3 separate regions of the Homo sapiens genome follow, and regions 1 and 3 are each linked to region 2. Evidence: promoter capture Hi-C in 16 types of primary human blood cells and fetal thymus (Javierre and others, 2016). All regions are on one chromosome and are shown on one strand. The core of a region is centred on a gene start or on the middle of the fragment in contact, and the rest is flanking DNA. Distances in the headings are between cores, read along the strand shown.

Region 1 (4,635 bases), core at 744-3,243, 290 kb before region 2:
AACCACTCTTTGCAGACCTCTGTGGGCTTCTGGGAGTCCTTAACAGCTGATTAATGGACAGGCCGTGCTCTCAGCTTCCCACTGCTCTTTGATCCTAAAACCCAGGGGCTCTGCTCTGAAATGGGGTGACCGAAGGGGACGGTGCAGAGGAGCAATTTTTCTCTGCCCTGCAGTGTAGCGACTAAAATAGATCCTCATCAGGTCACAGGGCTGGCCCAGGCTGCAGGAAGCGCGGGAGGTGGACAGGGAGGCTGTGGGTTGCACCCAGGCCCTGGGGCCTCCTCCTGCAGTGATGGGGGCAATGGGTGGCTCTGGGTGTGACCCCAGCTCCGGCCTCCTTTTTCATCTGGGATTTATGTCCTGTGGTGCATGGGGTGGAGGGGAGGAGGAGCAGATGGGCTTCTGAGTGGCACTTTCTTTCTCAAGAACCTCCCGGTCACTGTGGATAAACACTGAACAGGTGCAGTCCAGGAGCTCTCCGTTTCCCAAGGCAGCATGGAAGGTAGGGGAAACCTCCCCCATCACCTCCTCCATCACTCCCCATCACCTCCCCTTCATCACCTGTCCCATCACTCCCCATCACCTCCCCTTCACCTCCCCATCACCTCCTCCTTTACCTCCCCTTCATCACCCCCCCATCACTCCCCATCATCTCCCCTTCACCTCCCCTTCACCTCCCCATCACCTCCCCATCACCGCCTCCTTTGCCTCCCCTTCATCACCTCTCCCATCACTCCTCATCACCTCCCCATCACCTCCTCCTTCACCTCCCCATCACCTCCTCCTTCACTTCCCTTCACCTCCCCATCACCTCCCCTTCACCTTCCCTTCACCTCCCCATCACCTCCTCCTTCACCTCCCCATCACCTCCTCCTTCACCTCCCCATCACTGCCTCCTTCACCTCCCCATCACCTCCTCCTTCACCTCCCCTTCACCTCCCCATCACCTCCTCCTTCACCTCCCCATCACCTCCTCCTTCACCTCCCCATCACCTCCTCCTCCTTCACTTGCTGTCACCTCCTCATCACTCCCCATCACCTTCCCCATCACTCTCTATCACCTCCCCGATCACCTGCCCATCACTCCTCATCACCTCCTCCTTCACCTCCCCATCATTCCCCATCACCTCCTCCTTCACCTCCCCATCACCTCTTCCTTCTTCACTCACCGTCACGACCTCCCCATCACTCCCCATCACCTCCCCCATCACCTCCCCATCACTCCCCATCACCTCGCCCATCACATCCGCCCGCCTTAGCCTCCCAAAGTGCTGGGATTACAGGTGTGAGCCACCGCGCCCGGCCTCTAAGGCAGGATTTCTATGTCACAGTCTCTGGGTGGGATTCTATGTTCTTTGGAAAGCCTCTGTTTTTCCTCTGAAGGCCTTCAGCAGATTGGATGAGGCCCACCCAGGTGACGAGGGGTAATTGCTTTTACTCACAGTTAACTGATTGTAGGTGTTAGTCATAGCCACAAAATACCTCCACAGAAACATCTAGATTTGCATTTGGCTGAGCAACCGGGCACCGTAGCCCAGCCAGCCTGACACATAAATCAGAGGGTACGGCTGGGTTCAAACCCTGGCTCCAGCCCGTGTGAGTGGTGGCCCATCTGCCGCACCTGAGCCTTGGCAGCCGGCAGGCTGGTGGCACTTCTCCTGGCGGGCTGCTGAGAGGAGCAGAGAAGGCTGCGTGCATTGGGTTCCCAGCTGGGAGTCCTGACACCCGTCCTCTGGCCTGCTGTGTCACTGCAGAGCCTGTTGTGGGAATGTTGCCAGCCGCAGGAAGCCAGTCCTCATCCCTGGGAGAAGAGCTTCTTTGTAGTCATTAGAGCTCTGATGGCTTCTTGATGACATGTTTGCACAGTGGGTGGCCTGAGGACTCCAGTGACTGCAGGCAAGGTGTCATCGATGGCTTTGGAGATGAAATTTCTAGTCCTGCTAGCCCTGGGTCCGTCCCATCTCTGGAGTGTGCACTGTCTCCTGCCAGGTAAGGCTGGGCTGCTCCTAGAGTCCCACCTGTTCCAGCCCAGGGGAGGCCGCCTGCTGCTCTGACTCCAGTGCTATTGACCATGTGGTCCCCGCACAGGCATAGTCCTCCCCCAGGCCCTGGAGCCTTGGCCTGAATGTGCTGTTGCCTGAGTAACACGGCCCCTGTCCTCAGACGCGCTGTGGCCATTGTCCTCTTGTCCCTGGGCCGCCTTTGTGTGTGCCTGTGTCCCCGACTACCTAGGAATTCCTGGAGAGCAGGACCACAGCTGCGTTGTCTGGAGCTCGGTGGCCAGTGTGGGGCCTTGCCTAGAGCTTTGCCTTGGTGGGAAGAAGCGGCGGAATCTTTCTCAGCACCAGTGTCCCATTTGCAGTGCCAGGGGCCACTTGGGCTCTGTAACCCGCCGTCCCACCTTCTGAGAGCCAGGCCAGATAAACATCCTGACGTCCCTACGCCAGACAGCGATTCTGCATGTGACACTAAGCTGTGGGATCACAAAGAGAGGCTTTGATTCTGGCAAATGGTGGGCCCGTGGACTGTGCTGTCCCACCAGCTGACACACCCTTGGTCCCAGGGGTTTTCGTCCTGCTTGTTAACCCCTGACATGGCAGGCAGCTCTCCTGTGAACAGTGATGAGGGACACAAGCACACCCATCTCATGGCTCTGCCATCGTCACCCTAAGGCTTCTAAGGCCACTGAAGAAGGGGAAGGGCATGGAGCATTGTGTGGGAGGGTTTTATGGGCCAGGCTCAGGAATGGTGCCCACCACTCCCACCCACATCCCACTGGACAGAACGCAGACACGTGGCCGTGCTCAGTGCAGGGGAGTCTGGCTCTGCGGTCCAGCTGTGAGCCCAGAGGAAGAAGAAATGGTTTGGTAAAGCAGTGAGACCTGTTCTGCTACAGTCAGACTTTCTGGGGCGGGGGTGGGGTAGGAGGGCTTCTGCTACAAAACCCCTAAAAATCCAGGACAAGTTGCCACAAACTTCTTTATTCAACGCACAGCTAAGTTTGCAAGGGAGTAAGGAAAATTTCTGAGAGCCAGAAATGAAGAGGAAACTGATGCCAGACAGGAAGCAAACGCTGACTTCTGGATGCCCTGAGGCGTTTTGCCCACATCTGGGGCCTGGGACCTTGTGCAGGGAACAGAAGACACTACATCTTGAGCTGAGAAAAGGTTGGGAGTGGCACGTAAGACTCTTATCTCAAGCTGGAGTCCTCAAAGGCTGTACCTTCAGTGTAAGGGCTCTAAAACAACAAACTTCTAGCAAATAAAAATGACAATGATATTCATTTGTCCTGGCCTCTGCAATCAATGTGGATAAAAGGATTCCTTCCTAAGAATGTGTCAGTTTAGGCTGCGGATCGCTCGGGATCGGGTTCAAATTTTTGGAGTGGTCCAGAAACCCCAAGCCAAGAAATTAACCTAAAGAGGTGTTGGGTTGGTGGACCTGGGCACACGGCCAGAGCAAGCCCTCATCAGGGTCCTACCGGGTCCCTACAGAACACTGCCAGGCCCACAGCCTCAAACTGCAAAACCTAGGAGAGAACATTCCACAGTGAGTCGCAGTTGAAAGAAGCCATACATGTAAAACTAGATCAAAAGATTTGACGTTTGAATGATCAGAAATAGAATAAAAATAAGTTTAAAAATCCTAGGCCGGGAACAGTGGCTCATGCCTGTAATCCCAGCACTTTGGGAGGCTGAGGCGGGCAGATCACCTGAGGTCAGGAGTTCAAGACCAGCCTGGCCAACATGGCAAAACCCCATCTCCACTAATAATACAAAAAATTAGCTGGACATGGTGGCGCCTGCCTATAATACCAGCTACTTGGGAGGCTGAGGCAGGAGAGTCACTTGAATCCAGGAAGCAGAGGTTGTGGTGAGCTAAGATCGTGCCATTGCACTCCAACCTGGGCAACAGAGTGAGACTCCATCTCTAAAGACATTTAAAATATGGAGAGCATAGACAAGGAAAAACAGACTACAAAAGTGTTCAGGGAGATATGAAAAAAAGAGTCAAACAGAACTTCTTGAAATGCAAAATGTAATAAGTGAAATGAGAAACTCAGTGCATTGGCTGAACAGCAAATAGACCCAGTGCAGGAAGGAATCAGCGGACTAGAAGATGGAGCTGAGGCAACCGCCAGAAGGTACAACGCAGGACAGAACTTGCGAGGTGGAAGCTCAGAGGGAAGGTCAGAGCGAGAAGTGAGAATGCTCATCCGCTCGCAGCTCCAGAAAGCGCTAAGAGGGAGAGGGGCGAGACTTGCTGTTCAAAGAGATAATGGCTGAGGATTTTCCAGAATTGTTAAAAGACACGAATTTCAGTTCAGAGAACATGATAAAGCATGAGCAAGGGATTAAACAAAAACTCCATGCTTGGACCCAACACAGTGATATACAATAGCAAAGAGACGGTTTCAAAAGAAGCTGCTGAGGAGACTAATTACCTACAAATGCATGGCAACTAGGTGGCAGACCAACTTCCTGACCGCACTAATAGAGACCACAGGCCTGGAAAACAACGTCACCAAACACTAGTATGAACAGGTTAAATAACTGCCCACCTCGCATTTGTACTGAGTAAAAATATCTTTCAAGAACAAGATGTCGGCATCTTCGGACAATCCCAAGTGAGCTT
Region 2 (4,891 bases), core at 993-3,492:
TCCCTCCACCTATAATGTCTTCATTCCCTCTCTCCACCTTGAATTCTTCTCCTCCTTTTAGGCTCCACTTGAAATCCCTTCTTGCTGGACAAAGCCCTTCTTACCCAGTTCCCACTGGGCAGATTGCTCCTTCCTTCATATTCCCATAAGCTCCCTCCACATACCTTTCTCTTGGCTCAAATTCTTTAAGAAATGTACACTGGGTGCAAACTGTGTACCAGGCACATGGTAGGCATTGAGTAAATGTTTGTTGAGCCCATTTGCTCCCAAAGCATTTCTGACTGTGTTTATTAAAACACTATTGGGCCATGCCTGTAATCCCAGCACTTTGGGAGGCCAAGGTGAGTGGATCACAAGGTCAAGAGTTCAAGACCAGCCTGGCCAAATGGTGAAACCCTAACTCTACTAAAAATACAAAAATTAGCCGGGCACGGTGGCAGGTGCCTGTAACCCCAGCTACTCGGAGGCTGAGGCAGGAGAATCGCTTGAACCCAGGGGGCAGAGGTTGCAGTGAGCCAAGATTGCACCACGGCACTGTAACCTGGTCGACAGAGTGAGACTCCGTCTCAAACAAAACAAAGTAAAACAAAACAAAATAAACAAAAAAAGCCCAAAGAAACCACTCTCATTACTCCTATCCTCTTCTGTGTTTGTCTGTCTCTCCCACTGCCCTGAGCTCCTGTGTGTCTCCAGACTATTGAGTCTGGCATCTTGTAGGGCGTCAAGTCGTAATAAACTAAGTGCTCTCCCATCTAAGGACACAATCTGTCTATATGTACTTAAGAGTGGAGCATTACCAGGAGTGAAGCTTTCCAGTTCCCAAGAGGGGTAAAGGACAAGTGAGGTGATGGACACCTTGCTGCTCACCACTCCCAATCTTTGGGCTGACACAGGATGCCAGAACTGATTATTGTAAAAAAAAAAATAATAATAACAATAATGTGCAGACATTTGAAAATCTAACTCTCATTTTTTCCAGAGCATGAAAGGAAGGCCTAGAAATGGTAAGTGACCTTTTCAAATCCCCTGGGGTGAAAACCAGGTCCCCAATAACCTGTCGTTTCACAAGAAAAGGAGAAAGGGTAAAGGCGGCCGTGATGTCAGCGAAAGACCTCCAAGACAGAAAACCTTGCAGTCCCCGTGCTCTGCCTCTTTCACGGGAGACCTGGGCAACGCACACGTTGCTAGGCCTCAATTTCTTCAACTGTAAAATGAGGGGGTTGGAGGAGCTTGAAAAGCTCCTTCCAGCTCTGAGATGCTGCGCTATAAAGTGAGAGAAATGTGAACCTTTAGTTGTTATGATCTGAAAATATTTTGAATGTGGAGAATCAAATTGTAGAGCAGTGCATGAACAACATAATATGTTAATGACTAAGACGATTGTATTTAATCCGATGGGAAACAGCAGAGCTGCTGCCACCGCTGCTGTGTGTGTGCGTGTGTGTGGTGTGCACGCACGTGCGGTTTCCTTCCTTGAGCTCAAACATACATTTTGAATCACTAATATAGTAATCATGTCTCTGGCAGCCTATCTTGCCCAAACACACACGGAGAGACACCACACACCCTACTTCAAATTAAGGTGGGGGCGGGGGGAATTCCACTGCTGCTCTTTACATCATTTCTGTTTGGATAGCTATTTTTTAAAAGAAAGTTTTACAGTGAAGGTGTTGGACTCCCAGCCCAGAAGGGCTCTGATCTCAGAACTGGGACGCAAGGGTGGGGAGCTCGAGCTCTCATTAGCATTTCGCTTTTGCACACCCCCTGCCCGCTCCTCAGCCGTCACAATCCCGTCCTGCAGCAGGCCCCCCCACCAACACCGGACCCTCGACGGGGAAGGGGTCAGCTCGGCGGCCCCAGAGGCCACTGGGCCAGAACACGTGCTCCGGACTCCACGTGCGCGGAAAATGAACTCGTACCCGCGACGCGGCCGGCGGGGGCGGATGGCAGCGAGGGCCGGACAGCGAACCTTTACCCCGCGGAGGAGTCGGGGCCGGAGCCCGCACGTGGGTCTGCGACGGCCCCGCCCCCTGGGGGCGTCCCCTCAGGGACTCTAGCCCCGGCTGGTGGGCCCTGCAGGCCCGGGCCCGACCGCGTCCGCCAGGCCGCCCGGAGGTCCCGGCGAGCCCGGCGGAGGCGGCGGCCCCTCCCCGCCCGACGGCCACGCCCGCGCGGATTGGCCGCTCCCCGACGGCGGGGCGGGGCGGGACGGGCCGGGGCAGAGCTCGCGGCCAGGTGAGGCGCCCCGCCCCTCGGCGGCTCCAGGTGCGGCTGTGGGACCTCGGACCGCGGCGGGGCCGGGGCCAGGGCCGGGGCCGGGGCCGGGGCGCCATGGCCGAGTCCCAGCTGAACTGCCTGGACGAGGCGCACGTGAACGAGAAGGTGACCGAGGCGCAGGCCGCCTTCTACTACTGCGAGCGGCGGCGGGCCGCGCTGGAGGCGCTGCTGGGCGGCGGCGAGCAGGCCTACCGCGAGCGGCTCAAGGAGGAGCAGCTGCGGGACTTCCTCTCCAGCCCGGAGCGCCAGGCCCTGCGGGCCGCCTGGAGCCCCTACGAGGACGCCGTCCCCGCCGCCAACGCCCGGGGCAAGAGCAAGGCCAAGGCCAAGGCCCCCGCGCCGGCGCCGGCTGAGTCCGGCGAGTCCCTGGCCTACTGGCCCGACCGTTCCGACACCGAGGTGCCTCCTCTGGACCTGGGCTGGACGGACACTGGTTTCTACCGCGGCGTGAGCCGGGTCACGCTCTTCACCCACCCGCCCAAGGACGAGAAGGCGCCGCACCTCAAGCAGGTGGTCAGGCAGATGATCCAACAGGCCCAGAAGGTAGGCCCCCGCCTTCGCCCCCACACCGCTGGGACCTCGGCCCCAGTCCCCTGGACCGGGCCCCACCTCCCAGGCAGGGCCCGGGGCAGGCCGCCCTGAGCACCCTCTGGAAAATGGGCCCCAACCCGCCCCTACTTCCTGGGGCTGCAGTGAGGCCTGTAGAGCGAATGGCTGGGAACGTGTTTGGCAAATTACAAGGTGCTGGACAGATGTCAGCCGTCGGTATTCCAGCGTTCAGAGGCACTGGCTCTGCTCTGTACTTCTGAAACTTCCCTGTCCAGCCTTCCTCCCCAGGGAAGACTGGGGGCCGAGGCCCTGTGGTTAAAATGCACCACTCAAAGGTCTTGATGATAACCTACGTGCTGCCCAGAACATATCCCGAGCCGCTTTCTCATGTGATCGTCAAAACAACTTCAGGGAGTGGGTGGCGGTGACCTTCCCGGTCCCACCTCTGCCATGCTGCTCCTTGGACCACCCCTCTCCTCCCATAGTCAAAGCTGAGCTGGCGCCCTCACAGTCACAGCCTCTCCTGGGCCGGGTACTAGGCCCCAGCTGCCTGGAATGAATGGGGGACGGGGTATATTGAGGACCTACTGTGTGCCTGGCCCTGTGCTGGGCGCCTTGGCACAGCAGGTCACCTGACTCGGCAGCTCAGGAAAGGGCTCCTACTTAGCATATGTGTCCTGCTTGAGAGTTGGAAGGAGGGGCTGTTTCCAGGGTGGCTGGTGAGGCCAGTCCACTGTGGAACAGGTGGAAGACTTTAATCTTTATGCCTTTGGGTGGGAGTCCTGGGCAGCTTCCAGATCAAATGTAGGATGCCCCACTACATTTGAACTTTCAATAAACAACACATAACTTTTTAGTATCAGCTTATCCCAAACATGACATGAGACGTACTGATACTGAAAAATTCTTCGTTGTGTATCTGAAATTCAAATTGAATGGGAACGTTTTGTACTTTTATTTGCTAACTCTGGCTGCCCTACACTGAGATTTGTTAAGAAACAGCAGCAGCTTTTGGTGCCCAATTCAGAATAATACAACAGGAGTGGCTTGGGTTCACCACTCAAATTCCACTCAGTGAGTGAGGTTGGAGTCCTGGTTCCCCTCGAGGCTGAAGAGGCCTGAGGAGGGAAAATAGAGCTAGAAAGACCAGTGCTCAGGCTCATCTTCCTGGAAGGGGTGATTTAGGTAGTTGGGGTGATCTAGATAGTTGGCTACATTGGCTACCAGAAGGAAGGGTTAACTTTCCACTGCGCACATTTCTACCCTCCCTCTCTATAATTCCTCCCTGTCTGACTGAGTTTTCTTTGTATATTGTGTTCTGCAGAAGAAAAAGGCAAGATTGGACACAGAAGAGGGAAAAAGGATGTAGGCGGCAATACAGGCTGCAGCTGGGGTTAGGGGTCAAGTCTCATGATGTCATACTAACAAAGCCTCTATTTATTTAGCATTTAATATGTGCCATCCACTGTGTTAATGACTCACCTGCATTTTCTCATTAGCTTTTCACAACAACCGGGTGAATATGTGTTTTCCTTATTTTTGGAGAAAAAGACATCAGGATTCAGAAGTTTCTTGCCAGAGTTTCCATAGCTAGTAAGTGGCTGAGCCAGGACCCAAACTCCAAAGCCCTTGCTCTTAACCACTGTGCTACACTGCCCCAGTGTCTGAAATAATGGTGCAGTCCGATTAAGCAAGGGGTTTGAATGAAGCTAGCCTGGTCACAACCTGGAGTGCAGGTGGTGTACCCCTGTTACTAGAAGGGGGAGACTGGGCTTCTGGCCACTGAGGCATCTAGTCCCATGTGGGATGACAGGACTCTTTCCTGCATAGTGAGGTATTTTTGACTCTTTAAATATTTAACAACAGAAACTTTTAACAATTGTGAACCCATCCAATAAGTACAGGTTTAACCAGTGATTTCCTGAGGGCTGACTGTGTGCCAGGCACTACCTAGCCATGAAGAAGATACACGGTGTGGCTTTGCCCTCCAAGAGCTTAACAAATGCTAGGGCTCTGCTGGAAAGAAAAGAGTTTTTAAGGCTGAATGTGCCTAATCTGGGAAGGC
Region 3 (4,687 bases), core at 1,150-3,649, 270 kb before region 2:
TTGGGAGGTTTCTGGGAACACATTCAAGGGTGGGGTGCCCATTTGATTGTTTCTGTTTTGCTGTCCCTGGCCCTGTGCCAAAGCTATACCATAGGTTGGCTACCATGGCTTAAAAAAACATCTCTGAGAAAGATCCTGACAATCTCTAACAGGGTCTAAATGTCTGGCATTGAGGTTTATGCTTCCAAAAGTCTTTCTTTTCTCTTTCCCTCAACCTCATTCCCCTTCCCTCAGCAACTCCATCTTTCTTTTGAGATGGAGTCTCACTCTGTGGCCCAGGCTGGAGTGCAGTGGCACGATCTCGGCTCTCTGCAACCTCTGCCTCCCAGGTTCAAGTGATTCTCTTGCCTTAGCCTCCCGAGTAGCTGGGACCACAGGCACGCATCACCATGCCCAGCTAATTTTTGTATTTTCAGTAGAGACAGGGTTTCATCATGTTGGCCAGGCTGGTCTCAAATGCCTGACCTCAAATGACCCACCTGCTTCGGCCTCCCAAAGTGCTGGGATTACAGGTGTGAGCCACCGTGCCTGGCATCCTTCTCCTTTCTGATGACCTTGTCTCATCTTCCTCATGCTCCCCTCCACCCCACCCACCTGACACACACACACACACACACACACACACACACCCCTTAAGCTCTAGCTTCCTTCTCTCTGCATCTCTTCTCTGATAGGACGTGTAGATAATGAAGTTTCAGGAAGACACCCTTGGCTTCAGACAGACCCGAGTTCAATTCCTGATGCTCACTCTCGCTGGCTGGGTGATCTTGGGCCACTCCTAACCTCCCTGCACCTAGTTTCCTCACCATAGCTGGGGAAGGCAGCACTTTACAGGTTCACAAATGGGCCAGGGGTGACCGTGCCCGCCTTCTGCCTCCTGCCCTCCCTCTCCTCTCCCGCTGGTAACCCTGGCTCAGGGCCTGCACCTGCCTGCCCTGGACTCTCCCAGCCCCCATGTGATGATGGAGCCCACCTGGGCCCGGCGTTGGGAGGCCTCACTCCAGTCTCCAGTCTTCAGGGCTCCAGGCCTGCCCTTCCGAATCCAGCTGAGCAGGAGGAAGACGGCTGCGGCTGAAGCCTAAAGGTCGAGGTGGAGACTTGGGAGGTGGTGGGGCTTTGGCAAATGGGCAGCCCAGGAGCAGTGTGGGTGGGACAAAGGGATCTCCAAAGCCCAGAAAGAACAGCTGCATCTGCCTAAAGAGAAGTCAGGGTAAGAATGAGAATTCCTTTATTATCACTTCTGACAATTTGGACTGGACTTCTTATCTGTGACTCTATTCAGAGGCTGGACCACGTGGGTCCATGACTCATGGAACTGAATCTCCTCTGTATGGTGCCTCCCACAGTGTAGGTGCTTGGGAAACCCTAGTTCTGTCCCAAGTCCCCTGCCTGCTTGGATTCTCTGTTGCTTTCATGGCTTGGACCCACCTCCACATGGCCATAAGAGCAGCCCCTCGGGAGGGCTCTGGGCTGGGTGCACCCTCACTCCAGGTGTACCCTCACTCCAGGCTCACCCTCCAGCCATGCGGCTCTGCAGTCTCTGGCCCCCTTCCAGCCCTGGTGGAATCATTTGGCATTCTTGACCTGGTGCTTGGGCCAGCCTTGCAGCCTCTGCAGGGAGCCATTTCTGGCCACCGTAGGCCTGTCTCTCCCTCACCTCACCCAGCCTGCTCCCATCACTCCCTTTCCCAGAAGAGGCAGGAGAACAAGGGAATTAGGGTAACCAACGGTTAAGGCAGAAGCAAAAGAACAACAGGTGCAGCCAGTTCTAGGCAAGATTGGGCAGCACACAGGCCACACCCTCCCTCCTGTCATAACAAGGCAGAAGTTTCCACCTCAGCCTCTGATTGGCTGCAAGCGAAGTCTCCACTTCACCCTCTGATTGGTTGCAGGCCAATCCTTCATAGGGTGTAACCAATTGGAGGACTCTAAAGGGCACCTAGGGGTGTTACCAAACATTTGCGACTTAATAAAACCCTAATAGTGGCTCTTGAGCCGCTTGCTCCAGCCTGCTCCTGCTCTGTGGGTTGTACTTTTGGGCTTTGATACATCTGTGCCTTCCTTACTCTGTTCTTTTGTTGCATTGTTTGTGTGTTTTGTTCAATTCTTTGTTCAACATGCCAAGAACCTGGACAACTCACAGCCAAGACCTTCCATCTGGTAACAAGAGAACTCGGGCAGGAAGGACTGTGCCCCACCCCACCTGAGGCTTGAGACACTTCCTAATGTTCCTGCTGGGCCCTGGCCCTGCTTGGCCCCAACTCCTTGTCCCCTCAGCTCTGCTTTCGCCGTCTCCAGGACATGGGATGCTAACAGAGGCCGTGGGTGAGGAGGAGCTCCTGAGCCAGGAAGGTGGCTGGCTTCACCGTCACCGGCCTGGTCCTCTGCGGAACAGACCTCAGAAGCGGACCCTCTTGAAGGCATGTTTGGAATAGGCCGATTCCTTTTGGGGTGGATGCTAATTCCTCCCAGTTTTGCTGGGGAGGGCCTGGCAGGCAAACTTCCATGCCTCCTTTGACCCAGAGCTGTTCTCCACCCACTAGCCAGTCAGGGGAAAGATCACCTGTAGGTCTCCACCTTCCTACAGCAGGCCTACATCTTCCTGCCTATTTCCCAACACCTCCCTGCAGAATCACAGAAATGGCAGAGTTGGAAGGGCCCACAGAGGGTCTGAGCCCACCCCTCACAGGCCCTCATGTACAGCAGGGTCCCTTCGCTCATGCCAAGCCAGGGCCAGCGTCTAGGTCTTTGGACTCCCAGCTAAAAGACAGAGGCTTCCTCCTGTCTCCCCACCACCTGTCTCTGCACAAGTGGCTCAGGGACTTGCTCTGAAGTGAGCCCGAATAGCAGACATGACTCAGCTGTAAGCTATAGTGACGGCTCCCTGCCCTTCCCGCCAGCCCCCTTAAGCCTCACGCTGAGACTGCCATCCTGGCTCTCAACAGTCCAGCCAGATCCACTTGTCCTTCAAGTGGGCACTGAATGCGTCTCCTTGCAGAACAGGTGTCTTCAAACCTCCCAGAGCTTTAAACACAAGGATCTTGCAGACTGAGGAAGGAGGGATGCTCACACCAGGAGAGGCAGCAGGGCCCTGCAGGACCCTGAGTCACACCTCCAGGTTTGGCTTTCTGTGGCATGCGTTCACTGGTGTATTTAAATCACTCTCTCCTTCTCTTCTGCAGGCAGGTATCACTGAAGTATGCATATGGAGTTAGGTGTGCTTATGACGTGACTCAACTGTGTGTGGGTAGCAAGATCCATGTCCTCAAAGTGAAGGTCACCCTGAAACCCAGCCAAGGTCAGCACCTGCCATGGTTTGGAGGCAGAGCTGAAGGCAATCAGTGTATAATGGATGGAATTAGTTGTAGCCCATTCCACACTGTGATTTGGAGAGAGCTTATTTGTAAAAGAGGCTTTTTCTCTAGGTTGTTAGAAAGCAGCCACTGTGCAATGTAATATAAAAACAGCTGTAATTTTGGAAATTGTAACATGTCACCAAGTGATGCTGATGTCATGGAGTGAGAGAAGTTTCTAGGAGACAGGGAATTCAGAAGGAGAATGAGAAGGAGAGAATGGGTCAGAGCTTCAGAAGCCCCCTCTAGGGGATGGGCAGCTCTGTCTCTGGTGTGGCCATTGTCCCACCCTGATGGAATTCTTTCCCCAGCAGGTGTTTCCCAGATCTTTGGGATGCTCCAGGCACTGCGCTAGGTTCTGGTGACCTTGTCCTTAAAGGATTTATGTGCTAGAAAGGACAGCAAGAGACTAGAAAAGGGATGAAGTTCCCTGCCTGCTTCTCTGACGTCCTTCTGTGTGGCTCTGCCATGTGCTCGGGACTCCCCTGCCTAAGTGACTTTCTTAAACTCCTCCTGGTCTCCGACGTCCTTCTTTGTGGCTCTGCCATGTGCTCGGGACACCCCTGCCTGAGTGGCCTTCCTAAACTCGTCCTGGCCTCAGGGCCTTTGCACGCAGGATCCCCTTTCTGCCCAGGATGTTGTTACCTTTTATCTTTTCAAGACTGGCTCCTCATCATGCAGATCTCAGCTCAAAGTTACCTATCTGGGGGAGTCTTTCTTGATTAGTCTTTATTTTTTTGAGACAGGGTCTCACTCTGTTGCCCAGGCTGCAGTGCAGTGGCATGATCACGATTCACTGCAGCCTTGACCTCCCGTCCTCAGGTGATCCTCCTGCCTCAGCCTCCTGAGTATCTGGGACTATAGGCATGTACCACCAGGCCTGGATAATTTTTGTATTTTTTTTTTGTAAAGATAGGGTTTCTCCATGTTGCCCAGGCTGGGCTCAAACCCCTGAGCTCAAGCAATCCGTCTGCCTTGGCTCCCAAAGTGCTGGGATTACAGGCATGAGCCACTGTGCCTGGCTAGATTAGTTTTACTCCCTACCCTGTTTCTTATTAATTCTGTTTCATTTTCTTGACAGCTCTTACCACTCTCTGAAGTTCTTAGCTGTCTGTTGTCTGTTTCCCACTAACTGGAACGTGAGGTCCATGAGAATAGAGATCTTGCTTGTCTTGTTCTCTATTAGATCCTAAAAGCTAGCCTAGAATAGCCTAGAATAGTTCCTGGCACAGAGCAGGTGTGCAGTAAATATTTGTTGATGAATAAAGTTCCACAAATGTCTATTGAGCACCCACTCTATGCCAGCCCCTGTGCTGGGCACTAGGAAATTGTAA

Evidence for each region. The method cuts DNA at HindIII sites, captures the fragments that hold promoters and counts their contacts. A CHiCAGO score of 5 or more calls a contact.
Region 1: a fragment that was not itself captured here is called in contact with the fragment with the promoter of FAM83F in region 2 in 5 of 17 cell types (M0 macrophages, non-activated CD4 T cells, M2 macrophages and 2 more); the score reaches 6.9 in M0 macrophages.
Region 3: a fragment that was not itself captured here is called in contact with the fragment with the promoter of FAM83F in region 2 in 1 of 17 cell types (M0 macrophages); the score reaches 5.5 in M0 macrophages.

The regions. Positions count from the first base shown.
Region 1 is chr22:39,698,016-39,702,650 of GRCh38, forward strand. No RefSeq gene overlaps it. Among named protein-coding and RNA genes, the nearest start is that of CACNA1I, 130 kb to the left of the region's middle. The HindIII fragment of the contact is 7,974 bases long and covers 1-4,635 here.
Region 2 is chr22:39,992,712-39,997,602 of GRCh38, forward strand. It overlaps FAM83F (family with sequence similarity 83 member F), which reads left to right and starts at 2,243. Exons shown (of 5, transcript NM_138435.4): 1 at 2,243-2,820. The coding sequence starts at 2,332. LOC124905155 reads left to right here. Exons shown (of 2, transcript XM_047441700.1): 2 at 1,637-2,057. The coding sequence ends at 2,057. RefSeq lists enhancers at 1,958-2,591, 4,704-4,891 and a silencer at 2,166-2,285. The HindIII fragment of the contact is 8,768 bases long and covers 807-4,891 here.
Region 3 is chr22:39,722,725-39,727,411 of GRCh38, forward strand. No RefSeq gene overlaps it. Among named protein-coding and RNA genes, the nearest start is that of CACNA1I, 150 kb to the left of the region's middle. The HindIII fragment of the contact is 6,457 bases long and covers 1-4,687 here.